Regions from separate parts of the Homo sapiens genome. Here region 2 is linked to region 1. Evidence: promoter capture Hi-C in 16 types of primary human blood cells and fetal thymus (Javierre and others, 2016). All regions are on one chromosome and are shown on one strand. Each heading gives the region's core, a stretch centred on a gene start or on the middle of the fragment in contact. The rest is flanking DNA. Distances are from core to core; before and after follow the strand shown. Region 1 holds the start of DELE1 (DAP3 binding cell death enhancer 1). Region 2 overlaps HDAC3 (histone deacetylase 3).

Region 1 (6,765 bases), core at 426-2,925:
CAGATTTGTGGGACTCCAAAGCCCACTACTAATCCACTGGACCGTGTTCCTGGAGGCCACAAATGCTCTTTCCTCAGCTGTCTTCTCAGATCCTAGAACGGGCTGATATATGGCTCAAAAGTTCTTTAACGGCCAGGCACGGTGGCTCAAGCCTGTAATCCCAGCACTTTGGAAGGCCAAGGCAGGAGGATCACCTGAGGTCCAGGAGTTCGAGACCAACCTGGCCAACATGGTGAAACCCTGTCTCTACTAAAAATACAAAAATTAGCAGGATGTGGTAGCAGGCGCCTGTAATCTCAGCTACTTGGGAGGCTGAGGCAAGAGAATCGCTTGAACCTGGGAGGCAGAGGTTGCAGTGAGCCGAGATCACACCATTGCACTCCAGCCTGGGCGACAGAGAATCCGTCTCAAAAGAAAAAAAAAAGTTGTCTAACATATTAATACAACTTTCAAGCCACATGCCTCGGTCTAAAAGTAGGTGCCCCCAGTACACTTTTACCCCAGGTAGCAACTTCCACTCACCTTAAAGTCACATACCTGGAGGAAGGGGATAGGGAGGAAATCTAAACATCTTATACTTGAATGTAAGCTCCGTTATTTCACGGATTCAAATGTGGTGAAAGGAACTATTTTTTTTTCCTTTTTTTTTTGAGATGGAGTCTCACTCTGTCGCCCAGGCGCGATCTCGGCTCACTGCAACCTCCCGTCTCCCGTGTTCAAGCAATTCTCCTGCCTCAGCCTCCAGAGTAGCTAGGATTACAGGCGCCCACCACCACGCGCAACTGATTTTTGTATTTTTAGTAGAGACAGGGTTTCACCATGTTGGCCAGGCTGGTCTCAAACTCCTGACCTCAGGTGATCCGCCCGCCTCGGCCTCCCAGAGTGCTGGGATTACAGGCGTGAGCCACCGGGACCAGACGGAACTATTCTTTTCCACAAAAGAACAAACACATACATAACTTTTGCCACGTCTGAAGACGAGGGTTCTAATAGGGCGCGGGTGGTGTCTCAGGTATTTTGAAAGGAGCTACCCAAGAATCTCAGCTTGTCAGGCCAGTCATTCCATTTGACCCTATCTGGCGCGTATTGGGGCCCCGACAAGGTAAGGGGTTGGCATGAAGCTGCACAGTGAGATAAAGCTGGACCGGAGCTAGAACCCAGAATCAAAGCCTTGCCCTGTGCGGTTTCTCATCGCCTACGCAGTCGGGCCCTGGCCTGGCATCTCCAGGCAGGTGGCCTTGGACGGAAGCCCGGCCTACTGGCTTCATTTGTGGGACCCCGGGGGTCCTCTCCTCCGCCCATGGAGCCTGGTTACTCCCACTTCCTCAAGCCTAGGGCCTGGAGAAGCCTTTCCTGGTTCGCGGCCTCACGGTCTGCAAGGTCCTCTTACTTCCCTGAAGCCGCTCCAGCCCCACTTCCCGAAGGTCCCGCTTCCGGGTGGCTCGCTTCGCCACCTGCGGTCCCCTGCCTCGGCTTGGGAACGCCAAGGACATCCCCCACGGAAGCCTGGGCCCACATCCCCATGCCCTTGCCGCACGTCACCGCCCCGCTGGCCCCGAATACGCCTCCGCCCTGCACTTCCTCTCTGCAGCGCCGTCTTTCCGGCCGGGCTCCCTTCTAATTGGCCAGCTCAGAGCTTCCTCGGGTACTCGGCCACTCGGGGCATCGCGGCGGCCTTTCTAGCCGCTGTCCCAAGGGTTGGTCTCGCGCTTTCGGCTGCGAGCTCTCTGTGGTGCTGGCAGCGACATGTGGCGCCTCCCGGGACTCCTGGGCCGAGGTAAGGGACGTCCAAGCAACCAGCGTCACTCTGGGCCGCAAAGACCGAACTGGAGTGGGGGCGGGCCCGAGGAAACAGCCGAAGCGATCGTGGGCCGGGTTAGAGCCAAGGAAGGCGGGGCTTGAAAGAGGGCGGGGAAGTCAGGGGCTGCTGGAATTTGAGATGTGGATGGGCCTAGCTAGAAGAGGGTGGAGTCCAAGAAGTTGGTAGGACTGTTGGGAGGGGGAGGAGTCCAATGGCAGGAGATGGTGGACTGAATGAATGAAAGAGGATTAGGGGCCAATGGAGTAGGCATAGCCAGTGAAGAGAGGAGAGGTTTAGAGTCAAAGAGCCCCAAACATTAGTGAGAGTATATGTATGAACGTTTGGTCATCTTAGAACAGTGGTTGGCATCCACAGGAGACCAGCAGAATCACATGGGCGCTTTTAAAAAACGTGGATGCTCTACCCTGAGAAATCTTAGTTTATTGGTTCTGGGGTACTACCCTAGAATCTGTAGTAGATAAAAGATTCCCATGTGTATCCATGTTTAAGAACCTCTGCTGAGGCAGATGACAGTGATTCCTGGGTTCTTGTTGAGGTGCCTGAGTTTTGGTTGTTCTGTACAGCTCTTCCCCGTACACTGGGACCTAGCCTCTGGAGGGTGACTCCTAAGTCCACCAGCCCAGATGGGCCTCAGACTACCTCCTCCACTTTGCTGGTTCCTGTGCCTAACCTCGACAGGTAAGATACTGCCATTTTACCACTCATTTCCTCCCCTAGTCACCCTTTTTTTTTATTTTTTTTTTTTTGTTGTTTTTTGAGATGGAGTCTCATTCTGTCGCCCAGGCTGGAGTGCAGTGGGGCAATCTCAGCTCACTGCAACCTCCGCCTCCCAGGTTCAAGCAGTTCTCTGCCTCAGCCTCCCGAGTAGCTGGGATTACAGGCACCCGTCACCACACCCTGCTAATTTTTATTTTATTTTATTTTTTTTGAGACAGAGTCTCGCTCTGTCGCCCAGGCTGGAGTGCAGTGGCGCGATCTTGGCTCACTGAAACCTCCGCCTCCTGGGTTCAAGCGATTCTGCTGCCTCAGCCTCCCAAGTAGCTGGGATTTCAGGCATGCACCATCACGCCTGGCTAATTTTTTTTGTATTTTTAGTAGAGACGGGGTTTCACCATGTTAGCCAGGATGGTCTTGATCTCCTGATCTCATGATCTGCCCGCCTCAGCCTCCCAAAGTGCTGGGATTACAGTGTGAGCCACTGTACCCAGCCAATTTTTATATTTTTAGTAGAGATGGGGTTTCACCATCTTGACCAGGCTGGTCTTGAACTCCTGACCTCGTGATCCACCCACCTCAGCCTCCCAAATTGTTGGGATTACAGGTGTGAGCCACCGCACCCAGTCCCTGGTCTCCCTTTGCCCCTACTTGATAGCCTCTTATTTCATCATCTAGGTCAGGTCCCCATGGCCCAGGCACGAGCGGGGGTCCAAGGTCCCATGGATGGAAGGATGCCTTCCAATGGATGTCTTCCCGTGTCTCCCCGAACACCCTATGGGATGCCATATCTTGGGTAAGGCTTCCCCAGCCTGGTCCTTGACCTTCAGTGTAGATGAGAATGATCCTTCATGGGTATACAGCCGAACCTGGAACAAGGGCTAGGGAATCACTGTGTCCATTTAACAAGTAACCCATGGTATTGGAGCATATTCAAGGAGATATTGCCACTTTCCACACCCCCGCCATGTATGTTTTCCTCATTTAATTCAGTAAACATTTATGTAACACCTTGTCTGGGCCAGGCATTTTTGCTAGTCACTACGGACATAGCAGAGAACAAGATAGATACATTCTTGCCTTCATGGATCTTACAATAAATAATAATACATTGCATCTTTTTTTTATTATTCATTTTTTTTATTTTTAAATTATTATTTTTTTCTGAGACAGAGTCTTTCTCTGTCGCCCAGGCTGAAGTGCAGCGGCATGATCTTGGCTCACTGCAACCTCCGTCTCCCGGGTTCAAGCAATTCTCCTGCTTCAGCCTCCCAAGTAGCTGGGATTACAGGCACGTGCCACCACGCCTGGATAATTTTTGTGTTTTTAGTAGAGACGGGGTTTCACCATTTTGGCCAGGATGGTCTCGAACTCCTGATCTCGTGACCCACCCACCGCGGCCTCCCAAAGTGCTGGGATTACAGCTGTGAGCCACCGCGCCCGGCCTTATAGCATTATTTATTAATGTAAAGTATTATACATGCATTATCTTGTGTAATCCTTACAAAAATCTTACAAGGGAAATATCACCTTCATTTTACAGCTGAGGAATCTCAGGCTCTGAAATATTAGGTAACATGCGTAGGGTCTCATACCTGTTAAGTGGAGGAGCCAGATTTAACTCTGGAGTTCATGTTCTACTGCTTGGTTGCTGCATCAAATACAGAGCCTAGCCCGTAATAGTTGCTCAAAAATATTTGTTGAACCTGATCTATAAGGTCAGATTCTTACTAGTGAACACTAGGTCTCATAGGGCAGAGTCTTCGCTTTTCAGGCAATGTTCCAGGTGGAAGTTCTGCTTATAAGATCTTCTGAATGAAGTTGACACACACATCACTCTCATGTTTGTCACAGCTCATCCCTGCTGCTTTCGTGCTGTGTACTTTGGACAAATGACTTGACCTGTGTGACCCTTGGCTTTCTCATCTGTAAATTGGTGTCATCAGCAGAGCTGAGCCTGGGATGTCTCCATGACAGGGTTACCCCTCTATGGGGAGCTGTGGACTAAGGCCATATCATACCCTGAAGAGAGGAGCATTTTCCCATGTTGCCAAAGAAGATCTGAGCCCTAGGGCTGTCCCATAGTGAGAAGTAGGAAGTGGGCCTGGATTCCAGAAGTCCCAATGCCATCCCTGTGCTCTGTCACTACTGCTCATATGAAAGGGTCTGCACGCAAGCTGTCCTCAGTACCATGGATACTTGTCTCTGTTCTTCACAATGCTGGTGCCTTTTCTTCTGGCCTTAGCCCACACGTCACCCCCACAGACAGGCTTTCCCTGACTCCTTGTCTTGTCAGGACCCCTTTTATGCTCTGTGTAACTCTCTGATTAGTTTCCTTCTTGGCATTTAACATCACTAGTAATTACTCTATTTCTCTCTGTAGTTGTGTTTTGTCTTTCTAAACACAAGATATAAACTTCATGAGGGCAGAAATTATGTCTGTCTTACTTGCTATTGTATGCAGTGCCTGGAGCAACAAGTAAGTATCTGGGTCAACCTGTGTGTTTTTTTTAGGCTGGAGCGCAGTGGTGCGATCCTGGCTCACTGCAACCTCTGCCTCCCAGGTTCAAGCAATTTTCATGCCTCAACCTCCGAGTAGTTGGGATTACAGGTGTGCCCCACCACGCCTGGCTAATTCTTGTATTTTTAGTGGAACAGAGTTTCTCCATGTTGGCTGGTCTTCAACTCCTGGCCTCAAGTGATCCACCTGCCTCAGCCTCCCAAGTGCTGGGATTACAGGCATGAGCCACTGCACCCGACCCTGGGTCAACCTTCTTAAGCATAACATAAGGAGAGACAGGAGACAGGGAAAACCAAGGAGTCTCTGGGATAAGAGCTAGCTCAGGTCTTCTGCAGACCTGTCAGAGAAGAAACACCTTTACAAAGCTTACACCTGGAGATGTGTGTGTGCTGGGGTGGCTTCACTGGGGGAATGGGAGTTGGTGGAAGGAGGGGTTGTGCAAGACTGGAAAGAGAGCCTAATGGGGAACTCTGACCTGTTGCTATATTTGCAACTAGGTGCCAACCTACCCCATTATCTTTTTGCCTGCTTAGTCTTCGCTTATTTAGTCACTTGATCAAGCATTTATTCAGGTTGTACTTATTAGGTCCCTACTATATATTAGCACTGTGCTGTACTTGGGCACCAGAGATACATTGGTGAGTAAAACACACATGGTCCCTGCCCATGTCGTGCTTATAGACTAACAGGAGAGACAGACCTTAGATAAATAAATGTAGAGATGATTGTTTAAATGCCAGTGTGGTCAGGGCTCCAGAGAAGTTAGGGTGTTGTGAAAGTTTGTAGTCGGGGAGCTGCCCCACCTGGATTTCCTGAGGAAGTGATGTTTGAGAATAAGGCCGGGTCTGATGGAGTTGATTGGTGAAGGACCGTGTCCTTAACGTGCTGTCTTTCCCAGGGCACTCTGGCCGTGCTGGCCCTGCAGCTGGCAAGGCAGATCCACTTCCAGGCATCCCTGCCAGCAGGACCTCAGCGGGTAGAACACTGCTCCTGGCACAGTCCCCTGGACCGTTTCTTCTCATCTCCCTTGTGGCACCCATGCTCCTGTGAGTTCTCAGTCCTGGGGACAGGAGGGCTGGGCTGGGCGTTTCTCTGGGCCAGGAAGCGTCTCTGGACACACCTCAGGAAAAGAGCCATCAGCAGCTCCTTGCCTTTCCTATCTGAAGTCAGAGGAAGAGGAATGTGGGGAAGTTCTATCCACCCAGGGCATGGGCCACACCTGCCCCTCAGTGTCTTTCCATTTCCTCCCATCACCTCCAACCAAGGGAGGCCCACAGGGTCCAGACTACTTTAGATTCTGGGTGTGGCTTCCTGGCCCACATTCAACCAGTTAAATTATTCTCTGGTCAGTCACTCAGTCATTCATAAATAAATGAATCTTTATTGAGCACCTATTATGTGCCATGGTGCAGAAGCAACATAGCCTAGTGGTTGAGGCTCTGGAGTCAGATTATAGAGGTTCAAGTCCCAAAATTGCTGCATACTAGTCTTATGTCCCTGAACAAGTCACTTTTAACTTCCTTCTGCCTCGGTTTCTTTATCTATAAATTGGGGTAATAATAAAACCCACCCCATAGGTTTCTTGGGAGGACTAAATGAGTTAATACATGTCAAGGACTTAGGGCAGTGCCTGACACATAGTAAGTGTGTAGTAATTATTAGTTTAAGCATTAGTTCTTGTCCTTATTATGATGATAATCATTAGCAA
Region 2 (6,727 bases), core at 2,515-5,014, 290 kb before region 1:
GGGAACCCTGTTCAAGATGACATTTCTAGTTCAAGTACAATTTGTAGCTATTTTTGATTTCCAAGAAGAGGTGAGGCCCATTCCCCAACTACCCCCACCCACGTACTGAAGTCCAAGGCCACTTAAAAACCTTGGGGAGAAGAAGGAGAGCAAGTCTCACCCATGCCCTCGGATGCTGAGGTTAAAGCAGCCCAATCGATCACAGCCCAGAGAGTCAGCTCCACACTGCAAAAAGCAAAACCCCAGGAAAGTGCAGTGATCAGAACTGATCAGAACATCACAGATACCCCTTCCACCACCAACCTAAAGAACCTCCTCTTCCCTTGCTCTCTTTCCCCAAGCCCAGGCAGAACACTCCTGAGGAGGAACTGACAGTATTACCTGGAGCACAATGCACGTGGGTTGGTAGAAGTCCACTACCTGGTTGATAACCGGCTGGAAAAGGTGCTTGTAACCTGGGAGAGGGCCAAAGATGGGCACCTGGCACCCCAAGGGGATGGGGAGACAGGGAACAAAAGGAAAAAGGGGGTTGAGCGAGCATGTAGCCCAGGAAAGGGGCCACCCAAAAGAATCAAATCACTGGTCTGAAACTTCTGGAAGGGATCCCAGACTGCTATGAGTGACTGATGAAAGCCAATGACTTTTCCCAGAAAAATGCACATACACATGATATGTTGCATACAATTTCCAGAGATTCATGGTCCCTCTGAAGGCCATTCATCCTTAAGGACAACTGGCCCAACAGCAGACAATACCAGGCAGAAGAGGTTATTTCAAGGAGAAAAAGAAGGGGCCTAGGGAACAGAGGGAAGACTTCGGTACTTACTCTGGTCATCAATGCCATCCCGCAGGGGCACGTTCAGACAGTAGTAGCGGCCACTCTCTGCCCCGACTTCATACATGTCACCTGTAGGGAAGTGGGTGGTGGTAGCCACACATGGGAAGCACCCACAACCCAGCTGTTTCAGCCCCAATCTGCACTCTGGGAGCCTCTCATTCCATCTATGTAGCTTCACCATAAACTCCCTAGAGCCACTAAATCTCTTGCAGCTTGCATTCATTGGGCAAATAGTTTTGGGGGATCCACTCTGAGCCAACTGTGTACTAGGCAGTAGGGATGCAGCAACGAATGGAACTAATGAAATTTACGATATCCCACCACGCTTATATTCTTAGGGAATAGCCATGAGGAGGAGGGAGGCAGTAAACAAAACAAAACAAAAAACCACAATAAACACAAATAGCAGTGAGTGTTCTGAGGGAAACAATGAGGCTGATGTAACAGAGGAATGGGGAAGGAGGTGATTATGATAACTGGAGTGGTAAGGAAAGGCTTCTCTGAGGAGGGGACACCTGAGATGAGACTAGAAGGCTGAGAAGGAGGCACTCATAGTAAAGAGCTGAAGGGTGCAAAGGGGAAAGTAATCCCTATTCCCATACCTGTGCCAGGGAAGAAGTAATTTCCGTATTTGTGGAAGGACACCGTCATGACCCGGTCAGTGAGGTAGAAAGCTTCTTGAACCCCGTCACCATGGTGGATGTCAATGTCAATGTAGAGCACCCGAGGGTGGTACCTAGAGGGAAGCCAAAGCCAGGGTCTGAGCTAGAAGTGAACCCCCCAACCCACTCCTCTCAAACACCGGGTCTCGAATTGTGAAGAGTCTGCTTCTGCCCTGGTCACCTGAAACTTAATGTCACCAGTTCCCTAAAGGCAACTGGGGGCTCCAGCCTAGAGGCTAGAGGCAGGGACAGGAGAGGGATATGCAGAGAAGGCTGAAATGTGAGCAGGCAGTAGGGAATCTGCAGCAGTGGAAGAGGCAGCCTGAATAAAGCATCAAGAACTTGGGAGAAGCTAATCAGGGAGGAGGGAGGTCAAGGTCAGGGTTGAGACTGAGAGACCTCCTCAGCCAAGAATCCCGTAACTGCCCCCATCTCCTCCTGGGCTACTTACTTGAGCAGCTCCAGGATGCCAATCACAATGTCGTTGACATAGCAGAAGCCAGAGGCCTATGGCAAGACAGTGGTCTCATAAAGAGAAGAGCAATTCCCCTCCCAGCTGCCCCCCACCATCATCCTAAACACCTACCCTAGGATGGCCACTGTCTTTCCCATCACCTCCTCACTCACCTCAAACTTCTTGGCATGGTGCAGACCACCAGCCCAGTTAATGGCAATATCACAGATCTGAAAGACAAACACCTAAGTCACAGTCCTTCCTGCCCACCCCTCAAGCTGGGAGCCCAGGATCAGGGTTAAATCCCGAGTCCAGGGATCCAGAGGAAAGGAAGAACAGGACTCGGGACTATGTCACCTTGTTGTTCAGCTGGGTTGCTCCTTGCAGAGATGCGCCTGTGTAACGCGAGCAGAACTCAAAGAGCCCGGGAAACACTGGGCTGCAGGGAAGAGGAACAAGTTGGAACCCTCCTGCCTCTGTCTGGGCCCTTCCCATATCTCCCTCCCCATCCTAGATTCCTCCAATCTCCATTTTTCAAGAACCTTCTCTCCCTCTCCTACACACGTGGGCTATCTGCAAATTTATTCAACAAATATTTTGGACCAAACCATGTACCAAGCCCTGTGCAAGGCACTGGATGGGAAGTAAAGAAGCACTTAACTGTCAGGGAGTTTGTATCCTAGCTGCGGAAAGAAGCAAGCAGCTTCCAGGTACTCAAGTACAATGTAAAAAGGAAATCAGTTGAAAGAAAACATGAGCTCTGTTTTTCTTAGTCTTCTCAGTGTAACAAATTTTAGCATAATGTTCAATAATATTTTTCAGTCACATATTTTAAAGAAAGAACTGTATACCTACATATGTGAAACAGTGATGAGATAACCCACGAAAAGCCTGTAGCACAGTATACAGTATCCGCTCAGCCTTTAATAAATGTCAGCTATAATTATTACCATTGTTATTCTTTATAAAAAGTAAAGGCTTGAAGCCAGACACAAAAGCCTACTTACTGTATGACTCCATTTATGTAACATTCTGGAAAAGGTAAAATACAAGGACAGACATCTTATCAGTAGTTGGCTGGATCTAGGTTGCAGAGAAGTTATTAACTACAAAAGGGTGAGTGACCTTTGTTGGGTAGTGGAAATTTCCTGTACCTTGATACCTTTTTTTTTTTTTTTTTTGTAGAGACAGGGTCTCACTATGTTGCCCAAGCTGGTCTCAAACTCCTGGGCCTAAGTGATCCTCCCGCCTTGGCCTCCCAAATTGTTGGGACTACAGGTGTGAGCCATCGGCGCTGGCCCTATACCTTGATATATTCTATCAAACCTCTCAGAACTCTTACACCTAAAAAAGGTTAATTTTACTGTATGCAAGTTATACCTATATAAACCTGACTTTTTAAAAAGGAAAGGCTTAGGCAATCCCTAGTTTTAGGTCTCAAAAAAAAAAAATAGTGCAGCTGATACATTTGACCATGTGAAAAACAGAACTGTAGGGGTTTTTTGTTTGTTTGTTTTTTGAGATGGGGTCTTGCTCTGTCGCCCAGGCTGGGGTGCAATGGTGCGATCTCGGCTCACTGCAGCCTCCGCCTCCCGGGTTCAAGCAAGAATTGTAGGGTTTTATAGTTTCTCAAAAGGCTTGGAAAGAATTAGTGATTAATACCAGAAAACTAAGCAAATGAAAAAATAATGCAATTGTCAGCTCCAGGAAAAACAAAAAGCTTTAGAAGAAAATAGATTAAATCACACTACACTATTTGGCTTGATAGTAAATGAATCTTTCAGAGTTATAATAATGTAAACACAGAATACTGATTTATTTTTAAATTACTATGAAGCTGAAAGGGGAAAGGAAGCCAATGTGATGGTGTAAGAAGACTAAATGCTCATATCCCATACTAAAAGCTTAACAGATAATGCCTAAAATTGACAGACGAAGAAATAGCAATGAGAGACAATACAGGAGGGGAGTATGATTACAAGCACCGATTCTGGAGCTAGACTACCTAGGTTCTTTAACACCTACTAATGATAGTGAGGTTGTACAAACTGTTTAACCTTTCTGTGCTTAAGTGTCCTCATCGGTAAAAGGAAACAATAATAGACCCTGCTTCATAGGGGTTGTTGAGATTAAATAAGCTAATGGCTGTAAAGCACTTAGAACAGTACCTAGTATATAACAGGTATTACCTAAGGATTACAGATTAGTAATAACAGTCAATTAATATTATTATTTAGAAATCCAAAGGTAAATACCAGAAGACATAGGGGAAAGGAGCTGAAAGTGGCTGTCACTGGGCAGAGGGATTTATGGGTGAAAAGGAGAGGTCTGGAATTTTTTTTTTTTTTTTTTTTTAAGACAGAGTCTCACTCTGTTGCCCAGGCTGGAGTGCAGTGGTGCAATCTCAGGTCACTGCAACCTCCAACTCCCGGGTTCAAGCAATTCTCCTGCCTCAGCCTCCTGGAGTAGCTGGGACTACAGGCACGTGCCACCACACATGACTAATTTTTGTATTTTTAGTAGAGATGGGGTTTCACCATGTTGGCCAGGCTGGTCTTGAACTCCTGACCTTAGGTGGTCCACCCGCCTCGGCCTCCGAAAGTGCTGGGATTACAGGCGTGAGCCACTGCGCCCGGCTTGGGACTACTTTTTTATTTTTTTCATTTAAAGGCCTATAGTACAATTTGGCTACTTATGTTAGAATACTTTGAAACCAATCAGAAATTCATTAAACAGAAGAAAAATTCCTGATTCTCATCGGAAATACAGATAAGCACAACTGTAACTTGTTTGACAGGAAGACTGATGCAGCATAAATAGCCCAGAGATAGTATTCTAATTAGCATTCCCTAATCGCACAAAGAGCATCTACGGGACCCCAGTGTGGCGTAAGGGCTGACCCTGTATTCACAGAGCTAGAAAGTGAGCTCAGAAATAACAGCAGGAATACTAACAAAAAAACAAGAAACCTCCCCAAACAGCATGTGACTGAACACCAAATGAGCAGTGCAGTGTGTGCAAGACAGAGCTCTATGGGCTGGTGTGGTCAAGAAAGGTTTCATGGAGATGGTGTGAAGGCTGAGAAGGCCTTGAAGAGGTTGAATAGAGAACTAAGGGCATTCCAGGAAGGCATCCTGTGCAGCTGAGGTGTAGGGATAAAGTTGGAAAGGTGCCAATGCCAGCCTAATGAGTTGGCCTCTATCCTACAGCCCTGGCTGCTTCTGTCATTAAGATCTTTCAGGAAAACAGATTAGTGGTTTAAAAACCCGGGATCTGGATCATGCCCCCTCCAATGACCAGTTATGTGACTACGGCTAAGTTACCTAGATATTCCCAAACCTCAATTTACTTATATATAACATCAGAAAAAGGTCTATTATAATACATCTAAGGATTGGTATGAGAATTAAGTGGATTTACCAGCAACCCTTGGCATAATACCTAGCAGAGTAAGCACTCAGTAAATGGTAGCTATCATAAGAAATTCTACAGGATCAACAACCTGGTTTCTTCAAGAAATAAATTCAAGGGGGTGACAGAAAAGCTACAAATTAAAAGTCTTAAGAGACATATCAACCAAATGCACTGTATAGACCTTGTTTAGATCTGGATTTAAATTAGCTACAAAATAATTATGAGACAACTGCAGAAATTTGAATATTGATCCCATATTTGATGACATTAAGGAATCACTGTTAACTTTTTAGGTTTGATAATGATACTATGTTTTTTTAAAAGAGTATCATTTAGAGATACATAATAAAATATTTATGGATAAAAGGATATAACATCTAGGATCTGCTTTAAAACAATCTAACATGAGGGAGTATAGATGAAGTAAGAGTGGCCACTTGCTCAGCTGGGTGCGATGGCTCACGTCTGTAATCCCAGCACTTTTGGAGGCTGAGGCTGGTGGATCACCTGAGGTCAGGAGTTCAAAACCAGCCTGACCAACATAGTGAAACCCCATCTCTACTAAACATACAAAAATTAGCCAGGCATGGTGGCAGGCGCCTGTAATCCCAGCTACTCGGGAGTCTGAGGCATGAGAATCGCTTGAACCCAGGAGGCAGAGGTTGCAGTGAGCCAAGACTGCACCACTGCACTCCAGCCTGGGCTACAGAGTGAGACTCTGTCTCAAAAAAAAAAAAAAAAAAAAAAAGAGTGGCCATTTGCTCATAAGCGTTGAAGCTAGGTGATGGACGTATGGGAGGTCACTGCACTACTTCACTTTCAGAAATTTTTGAAATTTTCCCTAATAAAAAGTTTAAAAACAAAAGTAAGTAGAATTGAGCAACTGGTAGCTGTGATGGTTACTATTTTTTCATGGATATAGAGTAGAGTGTGGCTTATCTTTGTTGTCCACTCTCTTCCCCAGAGGGTCTAACCCTGACTCTTCTATGGATGATACAAGCTCAATGTAAACCTAATGATATCAAACCACTCCTTCGTTGTTTTTTTTGTTTTTTTAACTGCCCATAGCCCTCTTAAGATCCCTTGCTTTTTAAAACACTTTGATAGCTTCCCTCTACTCTACGGGTAAAAACCCCAATTCATAATAGAGCTGTTTGCTTTTAAAAGGTCCTATTTCTTTAGCCTCAATTCAGTTCACCTCCTCTTCATACTCTGCACTTGGCCTTTTTTCTGTTCCTCAAATGAGTCATACTCAGTCCTACCACAGACCCTTAGCACTTGTCCCTACTGCCTGCTATACTTCTCCCCTCACCCTCCAACCATCTTTCATCTGATTACTTCTACTCTTTTTTCAGATCT

Evidence for each region. The method cuts DNA at HindIII sites, captures the fragments that hold promoters and counts their contacts. A CHiCAGO score of 5 or more calls a contact.
Region 2: a contact is called between a fragment that was not itself captured here and the fragment with the promoter of DELE1 in region 1, in 1 of 17 cell types (total B cells). The highest score is 5.6, in total B cells.

Annotation. Positions count from the first base shown.
Region 1 is chr5:141,922,196-141,928,960 of GRCh38, forward strand. DELE1 (DAP3 binding cell death enhancer 1) reads left to right here and starts at 1,676. Exons shown (of 12, transcript NM_014773.5): 1 at 1,676-1,777; 2 at 2,386-2,500; 3 at 3,215-3,332; 4 at 5,956-6,103. The coding sequence starts at 1,747. RefSeq lists an enhancer at 1,557-2,070. The HindIII fragment of the contact is 14,517 bases long and covers 1-5,420 here.
Region 2 is chr5:141,627,733-141,634,459 of GRCh38, forward strand. HDAC3 (histone deacetylase 3) reads right to left here. Exons shown (of 15, transcript NM_003883.4): 4 at 2,312-2,393; 5 at 2,128-2,184; 6 at 1,952-2,007; 7 at 1,441-1,574; 8 at 827-907; 9 at 382-455; 10 at 161-225. Among named protein-coding and RNA genes, the nearest start is that of HDAC3, 5.8 kb to the right of the region's middle. RefSeq lists an enhancer at 6,437-6,566. The HindIII fragment of the contact is 184 bases long and covers 3,673-3,856 here.